5 separate regions of the Homo sapiens genome follow, and regions 2, 3, 4 and 5 are each linked to region 1. Evidence: promoter capture Hi-C in human tissues and cell types (Jung and others, 2019). All regions are on one chromosome and are shown on one strand. The core of a region is centred on a gene start or on the middle of the fragment in contact, and the rest is flanking DNA. Distances in the headings are between cores, read along the strand shown.

The links. The method cuts DNA at HindIII sites, captures the fragments that hold promoters and counts their contacts. A contact is called where the count stands out against the background at its distance.
Region 2: a fragment that was not itself captured here is called in contact with the fragment with the promoter of INO80C in region 1 in 1 of the 25 tissues and cell types used here (dorsolateral prefrontal cortex).
Region 3: a contact is called between a fragment that was not itself captured here and the fragment with the promoter of INO80C in region 1, in 2 of the 25 tissues and cell types used here (IMR-90 fibroblasts and dorsolateral prefrontal cortex).
Region 4: a fragment that was not itself captured here is called in contact with the fragment with the promoter of INO80C in region 1 in 1 of the 25 tissues and cell types used here (spleen).
Region 5: a contact is called between a fragment that was not itself captured here and the fragment with the promoter of INO80C in region 1, in 2 of the 25 tissues and cell types used here (H1 embryonic stem cells and dorsolateral prefrontal cortex).

Annotation. Positions count from the first base shown.
Region 1 is chr18:35,496,708-35,499,213 of GRCh38, reverse strand. INO80C (INO80 complex subunit C) reads left to right here and starts at 1,254. Exons shown (of 5, transcript NM_194281.4): 1 at 1,254-1,495. The coding sequence starts at 1,340. RefSeq lists enhancers at 1,077-1,346, 1,697-1,816, 2,087-2,236. The HindIII fragment of the contact is 7,991 bases long and covers 1-2,506 here.
Region 2 is chr18:35,263,130-35,265,635 of GRCh38, reverse strand. It overlaps ZSCAN30 (zinc finger and SCAN domain containing 30), which reads left to right. Exons shown (of 4, transcript NM_001112734.4): 2 at 1,181-1,691; 3 at 1,979-2,123. The coding sequence starts at 1,284. Among named protein-coding and RNA genes, the nearest start is that of ZNF397, 23 kb to the right of the region's middle. The HindIII fragment of the contact is 4,751 bases long and covers 1-2,506 here.
Region 3 is chr18:35,718,191-35,720,696 of GRCh38, reverse strand. It overlaps LOC105372064 (a long non-coding RNA gene), which reads left to right. Exons shown (of 5, transcript XR_935377.3): 2 at 948-2,506. Among named protein-coding and RNA genes, the nearest start is that of MIR3975, 130 kb to the right of the region's middle. The HindIII fragment of the contact is 4,490 bases long and covers 1-2,506 here.
Region 4 is chr18:35,689,541-35,692,046 of GRCh38, reverse strand. GALNT1 (polypeptide N-acetylgalactosaminyltransferase 1) reads right to left here. Exons shown (of 12, transcript NM_020474.4): 8 at 855-1,035. LOC105372064 (a long non-coding RNA gene) reads left to right here. Exons shown (of 5, transcript XR_935377.3): 5 at 1,604-1,971. Among named protein-coding and RNA genes, the nearest start is that of MIR3975, 99 kb to the right of the region's middle. The HindIII fragment of the contact is 3,097 bases long and covers 1-2,506 here.
Region 5 is chr18:35,664,299-35,666,804 of GRCh38, reverse strand. All of the region lies in intron 3 of GALNT1 (polypeptide N-acetylgalactosaminyltransferase 1), which reads right to left. LOC105372065 (a long non-coding RNA gene) reads left to right here. Exons shown (of 2, transcript XR_935378.4): 2 at 1-182. Among named protein-coding and RNA genes, the nearest start is that of MIR3975, 74 kb to the right of the region's middle. The HindIII fragment of the contact is 5,015 bases long and covers 1-2,506 here.

The DNA of each region.
Region 1 (2,506 bases), core at 5-2,504:
ACCTCTAAGTCATTGTGCAGCCTGTTTATTTCAAATATCAAGACTCATATACATCAACTTCCTGTATTCAAACATAGTAGCTTCCACCAATCACTGCAGGGAGTTAGTTCATTCGTTAAATACATCATTAAAAATACTTATAATGCACCAATGACTTGCAAGGTACTGTGATTGGGGGGACTGATAAGTTAACAAGACATAACTGACCCTTCCCTCATACAGATTACATTCTAGCAGGAGCCAAAAAAGACATTAACCATCCGATTATAAATCATTTAGTTATATGATGTCGCAAAGGTTCTGTAAAAATATAGGGTAGAATGAGGCAAAGAACAAGGCGGGTAGGGGGACTCAGGTTCCTAAATAGGTTTTAGTAGATCTGTGACCTCCCTGAAATCTGTAAAATTTTGTCTGTGTCTGTATACATTTAATGGGGTGGTGGGGAGGTGGGGGTGTGCGGCAGGGATAGGAAGCACAGATTCCATGCTCAAGAGTCTGTGAATCCTAAGAGATTAAGAACCGGCCGGGCGTGGTGGCTTACGCCTGTAATCCCAGCACTTAGGGAGGCCGAGGCGGGCAGATCACCTGAGGTCGGGAGCTCGAGACCAGCCTGACCAACATGGAGAAACCCCGTCTCTACTAAAAATACAAAATTAGCCGGGCATGGTGGCACATGCCTGTGATCCCAGCTACTCGGGAGGCTGAGGCAGGAGAATCGCTTGAACCCGGGAGGCGGAGTTTGCAGTGAGCCGAGATCGCGCCATTGCACTCCAGCCTGGACAACAAGAGCGAAACTCCGTCTCAAATAAAAGAAAAAAAAAAAGGGAGAGATTAAGAACCACTCTACCCTTCATGTCCATTTGGGCGCTATTTATATACAAACCTTTTCCGCGTGGGAAGGCAGGGAGGGATAGAGGGAGAAGCCAGTAGCTTGGCGGTCTACTGAGAACGACCCCAGCTTTAGGCTTACAGACATCAAAAGTAATCACTCTTCTATATGAGAAAAGACAACACGCTCATTAATTTTTTAAAACGTAGTTACTTAAAAAGATTGGGAGATTTTCTATTCCTCTATCAATGGGGATTTCCAGGCACGTGCCCCACCCAAGGCCCACGCCCAGAGCGCCCGAGTGGCAGGACAACGCCCGCTGACATCTTCCCGTCCCGACGGCACAGGCTACTCCGAGCTCCGCCTTTTAGATTGCACCGAGAGAAGCCAGCTACAGCTTGGAGTCCAGGCCGGGTTTTCAAGCATCAAGACGGAAGTAACAGCGGAAAGGAAGTTCCAAGGCCCGCGCTGGGAAAAAGGTGGGGGGACCAGGGGAAGACTCGGAGTGCGATGGCGGCGCAAATTCCAATTGTGGCCACCACTTCCACTCCCGGAATAGTCCGGAACAGCAAGAAGAGGCCGGCCAGCCCTTCCCACAATGGCAGCAGCGGCGGGGGCTATGGCGCCAGTAAGAAGAAAAAAGCGTCCGCTTCCAGCTTTGCGCAGGTACGCAGTCGCGCTCCCAGGCTGCGCGTGCGCGTCGCGAAACGGGACTTGGCGGGGCGGAGCCGAGCCAGGGCGCGTGCGTAATGTGGGGCGCTGCGCGTGCGGTCTCCGTTGGGGTTGAAAGACGCTGCCCCGCGGAGTGAATGACTACTCTTTCCCTTCGTTTGGACACATGGGCTTACAACGCCTTGTGTTGTAAGGAGAGAAGAAGAAGTAGGGAGGTTATTACTGACTTAGTATTAATAGAAGGACTGCCTCTTCCCCTCGAGGTCGCCTTTAGCATGAGGTTCAGGACTAATGAGTGTCAGTCATTCAGAAATTTGCGTGTCTTCCCCTCGTCCATTCTGCAGACATCTACCCAGTGTCTTTGAGGCGCATAGCGCTGTAATGTCCTGCATGGATGAATACAAGATGTATTGATAAGTATGCTTTCTCTCATCCTGAGAAAAGTGCTTTTTTGACCCTGGGTTTCCCAATCCAAAGGCAGGTTTGGTCTTAACTCATGGGCTTGTTAAGGTTATGAAGTAATGAGTGTAAAGGCACTGAGCTCAGCGCCTGGCTCAGACGTCAGGGCCTCTGAACAATCTAGGTTCCGTAATTCCAGCAATGAATTTTCAGCAGGGAGTGGCTTGATTAGTGTTTTCTCTGGCTCCTGCATTTTATTCAAAGCAAAAAAGCAGAGATAGAGTGTGTTACTTTGTGCTCCTCAGCATATGGTGTGACACCACCGTTCACCCAGTCAGTCAGTGGCTGTTCTAGAAATCTTGTTCCTTCTTCTGTAGGTGATTGGTAGTGCTTTTTATTTTAACCTTTTAATATTAAATACTTTGCTATAGTAAGATTTACACAGAGTACAATGCACAAATTTTCAAGAATACTGGCTGAACCACAGATCTTCAAGAATCCTGTCTCACGCCTGTATCCCAGCACTTTGAGAGGCCAAGGTGAGAGGATTGCTTGAGGACAGGAGTTCGAGACCTGCTCCCCAACCCCCATCCAAATTTACAAATA
Region 2 (2,506 bases), core at 2-2,501, 230 kb after region 1:
TTTCCTTGTTTCTACATTCACCTTGCCCATTCTCCATGATCCCTTCCTAACATTTTCACCATCATTTCTGATTTAGTATCAGCCAAGATTGTCCTGGGCATCAACCCATTCTGTAATAAAAAGAAATAAAAAGAGCAAGTACTGTAGAGTTGCAGCCTGGGTTCATGTCTCGACTTTGCTATTTACCAGTTTGTAGCCTTGGACAAATTACTTGGCTTTTAAGAACCTTAGTTTCCTCATTTGTAAAATTGAGATGATAATACCTGATGGTGTTATTGTCAAGCTCCAGTAAAATAGTATTTGTAAAGTGCTTGGCCCATAGTAGGTGTTTATTAAGTGTGAGTTCCCTTCTTTTGGGATGCCCCATAGCATAATAGAAAGAGCTAAAGACTTTGGTTGCAGAGCCCAGTTCTGCTGCTCCCTGGCTGTCTTTGGTCAACTTATGACTTAGTAGCCTCGTTAGGAAAATGGGCGTAATTTTTTTTTTTTTTTCTGAGGCGGAGTCTCTGTTGCCCAGGCTGGAGTGCAGTGGCGCCATCTTGGCTCACTGCAAGCTCCCCCTCCCGGGTTCATGCCATTCTCCTGCCTCAGCCTCCCAAGTAGCTGGGACTATAGGCGCCCGCCACCACGCCCGGCTAATTTTTTGTATTTTTAGTAGAGATGGGGTTTCACCATGTTAGCCAGGATGGTCTCGATCTTCTGACCTCGTGATCCTCCCGCCTCGGCCTCCCAAAGTGCTAGGATTACAGGCGTGAGCCACCGTGCCTGGCAAAAATGGGCATAATTTTGATTGTCCTTATAGAGTTGTTAGGAAAAGCATATAAAATTTATGTTAAGTATCAAGCTAGTGATCAATAAAATGGTGGTTATTTCTGAGATGTAATCATATACTATAGTGCTTTTCTTGCTCTCTATAATCTACAAGCACTATTTTATTATCCCTAATGTTGTTCCTAACAGTATTACTAAAGGCCAAATTGATTTCAGCCATACTAACATTTTTCTTTCACATCCTAAAAAAATCCTGAGTCATCTATAAATGTATCATTTATGTGGAAGTGCCCTGTTAGTCAGTTTTCTTTACAATGCTATGCTCCCTGGCAACTGGGCTTCAAAAACCTGTATTTATATTCCAAGTACATTATTTTCCCTGTGTAACATGAGCATTGTCCACCCTCAGGAGCGTCCTGGGGAGTTGGAATTCAGAAGGAATCTCTCAGACGCAAATCTCCATCTCCTCCCTGCCTCACCTGGGCAGCCTTTTCAGACTGTCTCTGCCCAGAATGTCAGGAGAGGCCACAGTCTTGGCCTACCATGCTCCAGAAGAACAGGAAGGACTTCTAGTTGTCAAGGTTGAAGAAGAAAATTATGTTTTGGACCAGGACTTTGGCCTTCAGGAAAACCCCTGGAGCCAAGAGGTATTCCGGCAGAAGTTCAGGCAGTTTAGTTACTCTGACTCCACTGGCCCTCGGGAGGCTCTGAGCCGGCTGCGAGAGCTTTGCTGTCAGTGGTTGAGGCCGGAGGTGCACTCCAAGGAGCAGATCCTGGAGCTGCTGATGTTGGAGCAGTTCCTGGCCATCCTTCCTGAGGAGCTGCAAGCTTGGCTGCGAGAGCATCGGCCAGAGAATGGAGAGGAAGCTGTGACTATGCTGGAGGAGCTGGAAAAAGAACTGGAGGAGCCAAGGCAACAGGTAAGAAGTAAACATTTTTGTTTGTTTGATCTATTGTAAGTTAATGGGGAAGCCATAATTATGACTGGGGCATTGACTCAGCTCTCAGAGAATTATACAGTTTCTTTCTTTTGGGTTATTAATTATTCACTCATTGGGTTCAAGTCACTAGGGCTCTTAAGGTCCTGTTTTTTTTCTCTCTAATCATTTGAATGAGTTTTTGATTCTTCTGTTCCTGCCCTGTTGCTCTAGGAGTTTTCTGCTTGTGTATCCTCAGAATGATAGTGCTGGTACTTGATTACTCCTAGGACACAACTCATGGCCAAGAAATGTTCTGGCAGGAAATGACATCCACAGGAGCACTGAAGTCTCTGTCTCTGAATAGCCCGGTGCAGCCCTTAGAGAACCAGTGCAAGACTGAGACTCAGGAGTCCCAGGCTTTCCAGGAGAGAGGTGAGAAGCCCCAGTCCATGTGGGGTTGAGGATGGAGGTGAGAGCTATCAACTGTGGCACGGTTCATTTTCTTAACGACAGCCACTTGTGGCTATCACTAAGTATTGTGGAAAGGCTTCTTTGCCTAGAAATATTCTTCCTTAGGCTCTGCCTAGAATCTGAAATTCCAGTATCATTTGTAACTTTGGGTTAAGAATTAAAGTCTTTAGTAAAATTCTCTAATACCCATAATTATTTTTTTTCTTTTTCTTTTTTCTTTTTTTTTTTTTTAGATGGGGTCTCACTCTATCACCCAGGTTGGAGTGCAGTGGTGCAACCACAGCTCACTGCAGCAGCCTTGAACCCCTGGGTTAAAGTGATCCTCCTGCCTCAGCCTCCAGAGT
Region 3 (2,506 bases), core at 5-2,504, 220 kb before region 1:
TAGTTGTTCTGGCTAGAACTTTCAGTACAATGTTGAATAGATGTGGCAAGAATAGACATCCTTGTCATGTTCCTGATCTTAGGGGAAAAGCATCCAGTCTTTCACCATTAAATATGATGATAGCTGTGGACTTTTCATTGGGGCCCATTATCAAATCGAGGACATTCCCTTTTAGTCCCGGTTTTGTTTGTTTTAACCGTAAAAGCATGTTGGATTTCCTGTTCTTTATTAAGATGATCATGTGGCTTTTGTTCTTTATTCTATTAACATGGTGTATCACATGGATTGATTTTCAAATGTTAAAACAACTTTGCATCCATAGGATAAATACCACTTCATCATGGTGTATAATCCTTTTAATATGCTGCTGCATTTGGTTTACTAGTATCCTGTAGAGGCTATTTGCATCTACAGGCACACCTCAGAGATATTGCAGGTTCAGTTCCACACAACAGCAGTAAAGTGAATATTGCATTAATAAAGTGAGTCACACAATTTTTTGTTTCCCAGTGCATATAAAAGTTATGTTTACACTATACTGTAGCCTAAGTGTGCAATACCATTATGTCTAAAAACAAAACAATGTATATTCTTAATTAAAAATACTTTACTGCCAAAAAATGCTAATGTTCACCTGAGTCTTTAATGAGTCCCAATCTTTTTGTTAGTGGAGAGTCTTGCCTCAATGTTGATGGCTGTTGACTGTTCAAGGTGGTGGTTGCTGAAGGTTGGGTGGTTGTAGAAATTTCTTAAAATAAGACAATGAAATTTGCTACATTGATTGAGCCTTCCTTTCACAGAAGATTTTTCTGATGCTATATGATAGCATCTTACCCACAGCAGAAGTTCTTTCAAAATTGGGGTTTTCTTAAACCTTCCCTCTGCTTTATCAACTAACTTTATGGAATATTACAAATCTTTTGTTGTCATTTCTACTATGTTCACAGCATTTTCACCACGAGGATTTCATCTCAAGAAAACATTTTCTTTGCTCATCCATAAGAAGCAACTCTTCATCAATTCAAGTTTTATGATGAGATTGAAGTATTCAGACACATCTTCAGGATAATTCTAGTTCTCTTGCTATTTCTACATCTGCAGGTATTTCCTCTACTGAAGTTTTGGATCCCTCAAAGTCACCCATGAAGGTTGGAATCAACTTCTTCCAAACTCCTGTTCGTGTTGGTATTTGACCCCCTCTCATGAATCATGAATGTTCTTAATGGAATTTAGAATGGTGGATCCTTTTCAGAAGGTTTTCAATTTACTTTGCCCAGGTCTATCAGAGAAATCACTATCCATGACAGCTATAGCCTTATTAAATCTTATTTCTTAAATAATAAGACTTGAAAGTCTGAATTAATCCTTGGTCATGGGCTGCAGAATGAATGCTGTGTTAGCAGGCATGAAAATATTAATCTTGTTTTACATCTCCATCAGAGCTCTTGGGTAACTAGGTGCACTGTCAATGAGCAGTAATGTTTTGAAAGGAATCTTTTTTTCTGAGCAGTAGGTCTCAACAGTGGGCTTAAAATATTTAGTAAACCATGCTATAAACAGATATGCTGTCATCCAGGCTTTGTTGTTCTACTTGTAGAACACAGTCAGAGTAGATTTAGCATAATTCTTAAGGGCACAAGGATTTCTGGAATGGTGAATGAGCATTGGCTTCAACTTAATGTCACCAGCTGCAACAGCCCCTAACAAAAGAGTCAGTCTTTACTTTGAAGACAGGTATCAACTTCTCCTCTCTACCCATTAAAGTCCTAGATGGCATCTTCTTCCATTTTAGGCTAGATGCCTAAAATCAACAGAAGGCTCTTTTGTCTATATTGAAAATCTATTGTTTAGTGTAGCCACCTTCTTCAATGATCTTAGATTTTCTGGATAACTTGCTGCAGCTTCTGTATTCGCACTTGATGTTTCACCTTACACTTTTATGTTATGGAGATGTCTTCTTTCCTTATACCTCATGAACAACCTCTTATTTTCAAACTTTACTTCCACAGCTTCCTCTCTGCTCTGTCTTCATAGAATTGGAGACAGCTATGGCTGTGTTCTGAATTAGGATTTTGCTTAAGGAAATGTTGCAGTTGGTTTGATCTTCTATCCAGACCATTAAAACTTTCTCCATATCAGCAATAAGGCTATTTTGCTTTCCTATCGTTTGTGTGTTCACTGGAGCAGCATTTTAAATATCCTCCAGGCACTTTTCTTTTGCATTCACAACTTGGCTAACTGGTGCAAGAGGCCTAGTTTTTGGACTATCTCAGCTTTCAACATGGCTTCCTCACTAAGCTTAATCATTTCTAGCTTTCAATTTAAAATGAGAGATATGTGAATCTTCTTTTCACTCTAACACGTAAGAGACCAATGTAGGATTATTAATTGGCCTTATTTAAAAATTTCTGTGTCCCAGGGAATAAAGAGGGCTGAGGAGAGGGAGAGAGACAGCAGAAGGACCAATGAGTGTAACAGTCCACATGCACGCACACATGCATGCACA
Region 4 (2,506 bases), core at 3-2,502, 190 kb before region 1:
CACCATGAATCCACCAAAAGTATAAAGCAAGGAAAATACATTAAAATGTGTTTTAATTTTTCAGAGAAAAATGACATTTATGTGAGAATGAAATATAAGTGATATGGGATCAGTAAACTTCAATATATGTTAAGGCACAAACAAAAAAATCAAGGTCTATTTTGCTCAAATATTAAACAGAGCAATTGTTTGCAGTCAGGCTTCTCTCACACAACTCACTGAACTGTGCACCCTGCCACTTGACAGTCTTGCAGTAACTAAAAAATAAGGATGGACTAGTAACAATGTCAGGCCGACTTATAGCTGATGGAACAACTGTTCCTACAAAACTCTGAATAGCAAAGTTTCCGGAAAGAAGGCCCTGTGGCACGTTTTGGGCTCTCAGTGGCCTTGTGATACTTGACGAAAGCCTCCTATGACAGCATTGAGGGCCTGCTTATAGAGAACGTTCATGACCCACTGCAAAAACAGTGGTTTTGTTATGTTGAATGAAAACTCCAAGAATCAAGAAAAAGTCATATAAGCTAGAAAAATGGCTGAAAATTTAACAAGATGAAACTTCACAGGAATAAATACTAAATGTTGCAGTTAGGTTTTAAAAAAAATAGAACATCTGCAAAACCTGGGCTAGCAACACTGACCTGGATAATTTATTACTGTTAATTATATATTATTCTAGGCATTCTGCCAAGCACTTTCTATACTGTGTGTGATTTCATTCATTCCTTACAATGACCTTATGAGGCAGGTGTTCACCTCTGCTCAAAGCTTCACTTCTAACCTTCTTACTTCTCCTCCAGGATCAGGGTCAACAAAGGTACAGCCTTGTATTTCTAATGCAAAACAACGCTAACCTGGAGAAATTATATAGAAGAAATTCTTGAATTCATCCATCCACACTTCTGCAAGTCGTCTGTTATTTTTATTGATAATCTGCCCTGTGCCTCCTGGAAACGTGTAAGGTGTAGCTTTCCGAAACACATGTCCAACATGTGAGCATGTAACAATTTCCAAAGTTCCTCCACACTGCCAAATCTGAAAACAGCAGAGATGACCATGTAACATGTAGCTGAGTAATCAGGAAATGTTCACCTTAGTTTTCCCATAGTATTTTTCTTTTCAATTAAATAGGGGTTTGGCTTTTGTTTAAACTTAAATGGAACATATTGTAGTTACTGGTAAAAAGCTTCCAAAGTACCTCCATACTACCAAATCTGAAAATAACAGCAAAGACCATATATGACATTGATAGTTTTTAAAAAAGTATTGACATCTATTGGGTTCCACAGTTGGAATTTCGCAAAATCAGGGGCACATGATGGGCTCCGGCTGTATGGTTAGGTTACAAAGCCAGTGCTTCCTCAAGAGAAACATTTCTCTAATTTGGGTTCTGATCAAACCAAAAGTTGAAGATTAAAATAAAGAAAACATAGGTTAAAGGCTAAATACAGAAAAGATATGGGATCTAGAGCAGTATTTTTCTAACTGCAGGCCATTATACCTAAGAGAATCATAAATTCAAATTGATGAATTGCAACCTGTACTTGTTAACAAGGACATACTGTTTCATAAAATGTTTAAATTTTATGTTTTGTGTGTGCAGAATGTATAATGTATTTATTAATGTGGCTCATGGTTAAAAACAACCACCAAACAAAACCTGACCATGGAGTAACCAGCCAGATGCTCATCTGTTCACCCCTCTCCAAACCTGCGTCACGGCTTGTACATGAAACAGAACCTAGGAATCTCAACTAGATCCATTGTAAGTTCTTCAGTGAGACAGTAAAAGCATGTTTTGTTGTCTTTGTTAGAACAATAAAAACAAAAAAAGGGGCAGAAGAAAGATGATCAAGTATGGGCTTACATCCTTAATTTAATGAAATCCTTCTGTTTCTTTCAAAATACATTCCCCCCACCAAGTTAAAAATCTCATAACTCTTTATAATTAAAATAACATTTTGGAAAGTTCTGATTTTGTTAAATATTCAGTGTTCCTACCTTCAAGTTTTCCCAGGATTATAAGTGTTAGAGCTGGATAGGATCTCCAAGGTGATATTGAGTCCAACCCTCTCTTTGACAAGAAGGCAAAGCGATTCACTGGGAACAAAGTGAGCTCGCTGGTTCAGATTACAGTACACGTCAGTGTGATTTCCACTATAATAAGCTATGTGTCTAAAGTTGGTTATTTGCAAAAATATGCAATGCCATTTAAACGATATGTTGATTCTAGTGAACATGAAATGCAAAGACTTTATATGTAGACTGGGTTAAATTAATTTAGAGTCATTTTAGAATTCTTTCGCATTTTTATTGAAAAATATAAAGCTGGTAAAGTGACTAGGTTTTATATAAAAAAAATTTTCACACTAAAATAAAAAGCATATTACAAAATGTGAAATTTATGTTTAAATGTGAAATTTATGTTTTTGAGAGTAAAGCAGCAAAGTAGCATATCCAAACTATATATTAGCTTTTAGAGCTTAAATTACTTCCTTGAAAATAA
Region 5 (2,506 bases), core at 3-2,502, 170 kb before region 1:
TCACAAAAGTGGACTTCGTCAAGTCTGAAGAGTCTTCAAGTGTGAAACTTGGTGCACAAGCATTTGTATCACACCATTTCAACACTATTCCTAATATCATAAAGCTGTTCAATGTCCAAAAACTGGTGACTTACAATGCACTTAAAAGGCACTCATTAATAAAAGTATCTTCAAAAACCACATAAAGACAAAAAGACATAAATATTTAATAAAATGTGTTAAGAGTGGTGATATACTTAGGGGGGTTATTAAAATGACAAAAACAATTCTACCAGAAACAATAATAGTTGATTGAGGCTCTTGAAGTAAATGTAAGGTTGTTTATAATACAGGCATCATTTTAACTGTAGACTGTGGAGAGTCTATAGTTTTCTTCAACAATGTTTAAATTTTCAGGAAAGCAAATGGTTTGTGAAAAATCTTTACAAATTAAGCTTCTCTTGACTGATCTCCACTTAATCAACTTGCCAGATAAAGAGATACTCTTCATCTCCTTGGTTTAATTTTTACATGCACAATATTCAACAGTTACCTTATTATGACTTATTCATGGCTAAGCCATGTAGTAGTAAACTATGATTACTTTTGTTTTCTCTGAACAATTTTTTTAAAGTTTTCCCTGAAGGTAATGCTCATTTAATTTTTTTCTTACTATGGTTTTCTATGTATTTCAATCCCAAACTTCCTATCAATTGTCTAAATCTACTCTAGACATTCAGCCATATCAGGTGTAACTTCAATGGTATCTTTTTGAAGTCTCTTCTGGAATTTTCTCACTGGCTCCATCTGGGCTGGTCGCCTCTGCCTGTGCAACTCTCACTCAGGCTCTCCCTTCATCACCTTCTGGTCATTCTCACCATTTCTTACACAAGCTGAATCTCCTGTTTTTTACATTCTATGTCTCTCTTGTCCTTGGTTTATTTAAAACCAAGGTTTTAAATGGTAGCGTCCTATCTCTAGTAACTTCCTGAGAATGGATGCTTGGGAGTTCAATGTTTTGAGATCTTGCATGTCCAAAAATATCCTTATTTAACCTGTGCACTTTATTGCAAGTTTGGCTGAATATAAGATTTTAGATTGGAAATTATTTTCCTTTAGAATTTTGCTCCTTTGTTTCTAGAGTTGCTGAGAAGTCTGAAGGCATTCTGATTAATAACCTTTTGATTGTGACCTTCTTTCGCCTCTTAAGAAACCTGTAAAAGGTCTTTTTTCCCCCCTGGGGGTTGAAATCCTCAGTGTTCTGAAAGTCACAATGTCTTGGAGTACAGTCTATTTTCATCTATTGTCCCAAAAAGTTGGTGGGCTCTTTCAATTTGAAAATTTGTGCAGTTCAGTTATGGAAAATTTTGTGGATAAATTTTCTCTTCCCTATTTTTAAAATTCTTTTTGAGACTCCTATTATTAAAATATTGGATTTCTTGATTGTTATTTCAATGTTCATATAATTTTACTGTTGTCCATCTCTTTGGTGCATTTTTCTTTATTTTCAAAAGCTCTTTCTGGTTCTCTCAGTGTATCTTTTGAATAATATCCTATTCTCATTTTATGGTTGTAATATATTCTCTATTTTGTTGAGGTTATTAGTTATTTCTCTTTATGTGTTCTACCTTAATAGTTTTTGTTTCCTCAAAGTTGCTTTTCTCTGTTTGTTGAGGGTTTCCTGAGATGTCTAGTATTCCTTGCTTACCTATTTGTTATTAAGAATGGAAGACCAAGAGGCTGAATATGAGGCCTAAACACATGAGTAGGACTCAATGACTATGAGTTTCCATAAGGGTGATCAGGCTGTGCCATTAAGTTGGAAACTTTCCCAAGTCAATCAGCACTAAAGTGCAATTTGTTGGAAATTCAGCACATACTTTTCATTCATATACTATCAGGACCACACTAGGTACTTACCCTTCTCTCTAGGCCTATCCAATTCTGATGAGAAAGATCTTCCAGTCTCTTCTCTGGAGGAGGCAAGCTTGGCTGCCAGCATCAATGAGAGCAAGGAGTTTAGGGGGCCTCAGCACAGAATGTACATGTTCACTTACTCTACCTATTTTCTGTATAGTTTGCTTGCTTTTAACTGGGCCTATGGTACTCTAGTACCTTGTATTACCTTCTTCTTATGGAGCAACTAGACATCTAACTAATATATTGCTGATAGGAGTGTAAATTGGTATAAACATTTTGGGAAAATATTTGGTAGCACATGCTAATGCTATATAAATGCATAACCTATTCCTTTCTCTAGTACATAGCATACGGTAATGGGCACTTAAGTCCTCCAAAAGACATGAACAAGAATGTCACAATAGCTTTATTTATAGGGGTCAAAAAGTAGAAATAATCCAAAGGTCTATCAATGTATAAATAAACAATGGCATATTCATATTACAAATCACTATTTGCAGTAGAAAAGAATAAAATTCTGATACATGCAACAATATGAATCTTAAAGGCACAAAAAATGGTGTGGATCCATCATAAAAAGTTCAAAAAGAGACAAAACTAATCTATG